Regions from separate parts of the Homo sapiens genome. Here region 1 is linked to region 2. Evidence: promoter capture Hi-C in 16 types of primary human blood cells and fetal thymus (Javierre and others, 2016). All regions are on one chromosome and are shown on one strand. The core of a region is centred on a gene start or on the middle of the fragment in contact, and the rest is flanking DNA. Distances in the headings are between cores, read along the strand shown. Region 1 holds the start of C17orf58 (chromosome 17 open reading frame 58). Region 2 holds the start of PSMD12 (proteasome 26S subunit, non-ATPase 12).

Region 1 (2,970 bases), core at 362-2,861, 630 kb after region 2:
CTAGCCTTTATTTTTCTCTCCCCTTGCATTAAAGAGATGGATCTGCCCATTTGCAGCTCTGGCAACACTTCATTTAAAGTTGATCAGTCTTGCCAAATCGATAATCTGCTTTAAAATCAGCTTTCACCCAGCAATAATAGCTGGTTAGAGTTCATGTTTTTGCAAAGAGGTTGATTCTGACTCATTATGTTGTTAAACGGTTGTGCCATGCACAGCTGAATAAAGTTCTGGTGGATATCCAATTCCTGACTGTCAACTGTTGACCTCACAACTGCTTCCCCATTGATATAACCATCTGTTGTCATGGGAAAGATTGTCTGATATTTGGGTTAAATGCCACTGAAGTCATTCAATTTCCATGTGGAAAAATAACCCAGAGTAAATTGCCCTGTGAGGTACGGAAACTGTTTTTCCCAGAGATAGCGAAGCCGACAGAACATCCAAATAAAAGCAAAACAAAAACACGATCCCCCAGAGAACCCCTCATTTCTTCACGGGCTGAGTAACTTAATTTCATTTCGTGCATGAAGTATAAGAGTGTGTGCGTGTTAGTTAAACCCCGGCTCAGGTGTCCCAAGGTTGTGCGCTGGGGCTGCGGGGAGAGCAAAGTGCCCGGGGCTGCCGGATTTCGGCCCCGCTTCCCCCCAGCCCTCCACAGCGCCCCCCGCAGCCCCTGCTCACCCAGTCGAGGGGGGCGGACCCCGCGGCGTCCTGCGAGCCCGGCCCGGGCACGGCTCCCGAAAGGCGCGCCACGACCCCTTTTGACACTTTCCCTCCTCCGTGATGGAGCAACTACTTAACATGCAAAGTTTTCCCCAGCCTGCCCGGCTTGCTCGGGATCATTTCAGTAGCTAAATTGGCTTCTTTCCGAAAAGGCTGCCAAGAGACACGAAACCTTGGGGACACACTTTGCTCCTTTATAAGACGAACGCAGACCCGGGGTGTCCTCTCTTGCGAGCTCTGACCCCCCTCCTCGTCCCACGTTTCACTGAGCCTCCTTCCCAGCTCCCCCCCACAGATCCCCGCTCCGCTCCCAGGGCCCCGCACTACACCAATCTTACTTTTTCTCTCCGCCACCGGTGCTTCGGGGGATGATCCGACGATCAAACAGAGGAGCCAGAAAGCTCTAGCTGTCATTTTTGCAGACAGGGTTCCCAGGCTCTAAAAGTGAGCCTGGTCTTTTGCTTGCTTTCTCTCCCCCAACCCCTTCTCCACACCCCCACCCCCGTTCATGCTAATGAGGGGCAGCCTTTGGGGAAACGGGAATCACTCGCTGAGCAGACCATTGGAACAAAACCGAGCCGCAGGGATTTCTCCCTCTTCCTTCCTAAGGAGGACGAGCACATGGCCTTGCAAAGTTGTCCCCGGGAATGTCTGTCCTGTGATCTGCGGGCGAGGAGAGCATCACAGCCTAAACTTTAAACCTGTGTGCGTTTGCGCGCTGGGGTGGGGGCAGCAAAGGGTGGGGTGACAAGTGCAGAGAATAAGCGTGTTTCGGGACTGAGGGACTGGGTGGGGGAGAACGAGTGACGGGAGCTTTTTTCTAGATTAGGTCAACAACAAATAGGAAAATAGTGCTTAAGACAGCGTGGGTTTGTGGAAGGGAGATTCCAGATGACAGAGAATGTATCCTGGAATGTGTGTGTTAGGCAATTTCTAGAGAAACCAAGTCACTGCTTCCTTAGTAAAACTGTTTCATTATATATCACAGCTCATTGTAACCTCTGCCTCCCGGACTAAAGCGATTCTCGTGCCTCAGCCTCTCAAGTAGCTGGGATTACAGGCATATGCCACCATGCGAGGCTAATTTTTGTATTTTTAGCAGAGACGGGATTTCACCGTGTTGGCCAGGCTGGTCTCAAACTCCTGACCTCAAGTGATCCACCCACCTTGGCCTCCCAAAGTGCTGGGATTACAGCATGAGCCACCACGCCGGGCCCAGAGGTCTAATTATTAATCAGAATGTTGCCTGTTGAGGCCAGGCAGGGTGGTTCATGCCTGTAATCCCAGTACTTTGGGAGCCCGAGACAGGAGGATCTCTTGAGCTCAGGAGTTCAAGACCAGCCTGAGCAACATGGAGAGAACCTGTCTCTACAAAAAATACAAAAATTAGCCAGGCATGGTGGCTCGCATCTGTGGTCCCAGCCACTTGGGAGGCTGAGGTGGGAGGATCACTTGAGCCTAGGAGGTGGAGGTTGCAGTGAGCCGAGATTGTGCCACTGCACTCCAGCCTGGGTGACAGAGAGAGGCCCTGTCTCAAAAAAAAAAAAAAAAAAAAAAGAAGAAGAAGAAGAAGAAGAAAGAAAAGAAAGAGGAGGAGCCAGGCACAGTGGCTCACGCCTGTAATCCCAGCATTTTGGGAGGCCAAGGCAGGCGGATCACGAGGTCAGGAGTTCAAGACCAGCCTGGCCAAATTAGTGCAACCCTGTCTCTACTAAAATTACAAAAAAGTTAGCAGGGTGTGGTGGCACACACCTGTAGTCCCAGCTACTCAGGAGGCTGAGGCAGGAGAATCGCTTGAACCTGGGAGGCAAAGGTTGCAGTGAGCTGAGACTATGCCATTGCACTCCAGCCTGGGTGATAGAGTGAGACTTTTGTCTCAAAAAGAAAAAAAAAAAGAGGAGGAGGAGGAGAACGAAGAAGAAGAAGAAGGAGAGCAGGGCCAGGTGTGGTGGCTCACGCCTGTAATCCCAGCACTTTGGGAGGACAAGGTGGGTCGATCACGAGGCCAGGAGATCCAGACCATCCTGGCTGACACAGTGAAACCCCGTCTCTACTGAAAATACAAAAAATTAGCCGGGCGTGGTGGCGGGCGCCTGTAGTCCCAGCTACTCAGGAGGCTGAGGCAGGAGACTGGCGTGAACCTGGGAGGCGGAGCTTGCAGTGTGGCGCCACTGCCCTGCCCTCCAGCCTGGGTGACAGAGTGAGACTCTGTCTCAAAAAAAAAAAAAAAAAAAAAAAAGAAGGAGA
Region 2 (3,089 bases), core at 346-2,845:
GCGTGCGACCAGCCTGGCCAACGTAGTGAAACCCCGTCTCTACTAAAAGTACAAAAATTAGCCGGGCGTGGTGGCACCTGTAGTCCTAGCTACTCGGGAGGCGGAGGCAGGAGAATCGTTTGAACCCGGGAGGCGGGGGTTGCAGTCAGCCAAGATTGCGCCACTGCACTCCATCCTGGGTGAAAAAAGTGAAACTCCGTCTCAAAAAAAAAAAAAAAAAAAGTTCAGGTTTTCACTACAATAGGCTTCTAGGCAGGACAGCATGGTGTGTGAGGGCACCAGCTCCAGAATCTAGAATCGGTCTGCCTGGGTTTGCTTCTTGGCTTCACCACTTTACTAGCTGTATGATCTTGGGGCATGTGATTCAACTTTTTCTAGCCCAAGTTTTCTTACCTGTAAAATAAGGATAATAGTAATAGCCATCGCATAGGGCTGAGGTGAGGATCAAATGGCTTAGTGCATGTAAGCACGGTGCCTGACACTGCAGAAACTACTCAACAAATATCAGTTATTGTTATCTGTCTGGCATTGGAGGCGGCTGAGTTTTCCCACCCTTATGTAACTGATGTTTGTTGATGCTAGCTGCTAGAAAGCTCTTAATGAATTTGTGGCTCCCCCTCAGCAAGCATACTGAACCTAAGATATACATACGTACCAACTTTATCACCTTTCTCCATCCTTGTTTCTTGGAAAGCCCGTTAAACTCTTATAGTGCCTACTTGTCTTTACTTCTGTAGTTCCGTCTTCAGTAATGACTCCACCCCACCTCAATCTTACTAATTCCTCAAGACCCAATACAAACGTCAGCCTTCCTGTAAAACCTTCCCTTATGGCACCATTAAGAATGCATAGCTTCCTTCTCGGTGTTCCAGTAACACTTTCCCCTTGTATGGCCCTCACCACCATGCATGACTTGACTAATTCATCACGTACATCAACTCCTAAAGGACAGGGTCCTGTGTTAGTCATCTTCGTACTATCACTTTCCTGCCCCTTCTCCTGGCCAAAGACCAGGCACATAGCCATGATCCACAAACGATGTAACGACATAAATTGATTGAGCAACAGCAACAGAACGAAACTCTCTGATCTAGCCTTAATACTGAAGCGGCCTTAACCCCTGGGAAACTACTAAGGTAAATATCACTTAAACAGCATCCAAGAAACGGCAAAAAGTTAAACGGAGCCCTAAGTCCCACGGAGGGAAGTGACCATCTGTTTTGGGGAGGGTCTGGGAAGCTATAGGCGCTGGCGTACTCCGCAGCCCTGGCCGGGCCGACCTGGGGTCTCCCACTCGTGCAGGCCCAACTAGGGCTGGACAGGCATTGGGGGGTGCACGCTCCAGCCCGCAGGCCCCCTGAGGCCTAAGCAGGCTCCGCGCCGTGACTCAGCCCCTGGCGCCCGCCAACAGCCAGCCGGCCTCTCCTCACCTTGGCTAGCTTCGCACACTCGGGTAGGCGCTGATCCACCGTGGCGCTGTAGTCCACCTCCATCTTGACGATGCGCCCGTCAGCCCGCTCCGAGCCGCCGTCCGCCATGGTCCCCGCCTGAGCGTCCCTTGCTGTCCCCCTGCTTCGGCCACCACTCGTCACCCACACCGGAAGTTGCCCGCGCACCCGCTCAGGCAGCCCATCGGGAGCCCACGCAAAGGACCCCTCGAGGTCCCCGGCGCTGGTTGCCACTCAGGCACTGCCGCGGACAGCCTGGGGGTGGGGCTTGAGGCGCGCGGGGCGGGACTCGCCACTCCAGCCTGCAGCGTCAGGTTTTGTCTCTGGGAACATCAGACTTTTTACCTAAAATTTGCGATGAGAAAAGCGAGTGTAATAGAACAGACCATCTCATATATCCCTACACCCCTGCTTCGAAATATGATTTCTCAGGACCGTGGCCAGTCGCTTTTCTTGGATCTCGGTTTTCTCATCTCTACATCAGGAGGCTAAAATAAACCTTAAAATAGAAAATTCTAAGGTTTTATCTACTTGAGAATCTTGGTGGCTTACTCTGTGGGATCTCTGAAAGCTCCTAAGAGAAGATATGGCAGCAGCTCAGTCATTTAATAAGCAAAGTGGTTTTTCTCTTTGTTTTCATTTTCACTGTAATCCACTAAGTTGGTAAAAAGAAAAGTTAAAAAGACATATTTGTTATCCCTATAGGATTTTCGTGAGCATCAAACTAGATGACATGTGAGACAATTTCAATTCTTAAGGGCCTTACACGTTTTATGTGTTATCATTCATACCATGCTGGTCCCTAGAAAATAGCTTGAGATCTTAAAAAAGCTTAGGATCCTTGAAAATGGGAATGAGGCCGGGCGCGGTGGCTCACGCCTGTAATCCCAGCCCTTTGGGAGGCTGAGGCGGGCGGATCATGAGGTCAGGAGATCGAGACCATCGTGGCTAACACGGTGAAACCCCGTCTCTACTAAAAATACAAAAAATTAGCCGGGCGTGGTGGCGGGCACCTGTAGTCCCAACTACTCGGGAGGCTGAGGCAGGAGAATGGCGTGAACCCAGGAGGCGAAGCTTGCAGTGAGCCGGCGAGATTGCGCCACTGCACTCCAGCCTGGGCGACAGAGCAAGACTCCGTCTCAAAAAAAAAAAAAAAAAAGAAAAAGAAAAGTAAAGAAAATGGGAATGAGGTTGTGTTTGGTGTGGGCATATGGTCAACAGCAGCCTGGAAAGCAAACAGGAAAACGGGAAATCTTGGAGTGGTTTATCTATTATGTTAGTGGTTCTCAATTTAATTAGTGCCGACATCGCTTTATAGATGCTGAATAGATCTCTTTGTTTGTTTTAACTGCAATGAAAATCAGGGAAAATATAAACCATCTACAAGCAAAATAAGACAATATCTCAGCTATAATCTGTAATGTAGAGGAGAAACAAATTTTACCTTTTTTTTATTTTTGTAGAGATAGCAGCTATACTACGTAGCCCAGGCTGGTCTCAAACACCTGGCCTCAAGCAGTCCTCTCACCTTGGCCTCCTAAAGTGCTGAGATTACAGGTGTGAGCCACTGTGCCCAACCAAGAAACAAATTTTAAAATAGCAAAATAATATATATTTCAAGAGATAAGGGCTAAAACATGT

What was found. Contacts are between HindIII fragments. The CHiCAGO score rates a contact against its expected background, and 5 or more counts as called.
Region 1: a contact is called between a fragment that was not itself captured here and the fragment with the promoter of PSMD12 in region 2, in 1 of 17 cell types (erythroblasts). The highest score is 5.2, in erythroblasts.

The regions. Positions count from the first base shown.
Region 1 is chr17:67,995,062-67,998,031 of GRCh38, forward strand. It overlaps C17orf58 (chromosome 17 open reading frame 58), which reads right to left and starts at 1,408. Exons shown (of 4, transcript NM_001382359.1): 1 at 1,062-1,408. The coding sequence starts at 1,137. RefSeq lists a silencer at 638-727. The HindIII fragment of the contact is 3,759 bases long and covers 1-2,970 here.
Region 2 is chr17:67,364,982-67,368,070 of GRCh38, forward strand. It overlaps PSMD12 (proteasome 26S subunit, non-ATPase 12), which reads right to left and starts at 1,596. Exons shown (of 11, transcript NM_002816.5): 1 at 1,431-1,596. The coding sequence starts at 1,538. RefSeq lists enhancers at 1,412-1,471, 1,492-1,801. The HindIII fragment of the contact is 3,672 bases long and covers 1-2,277 here.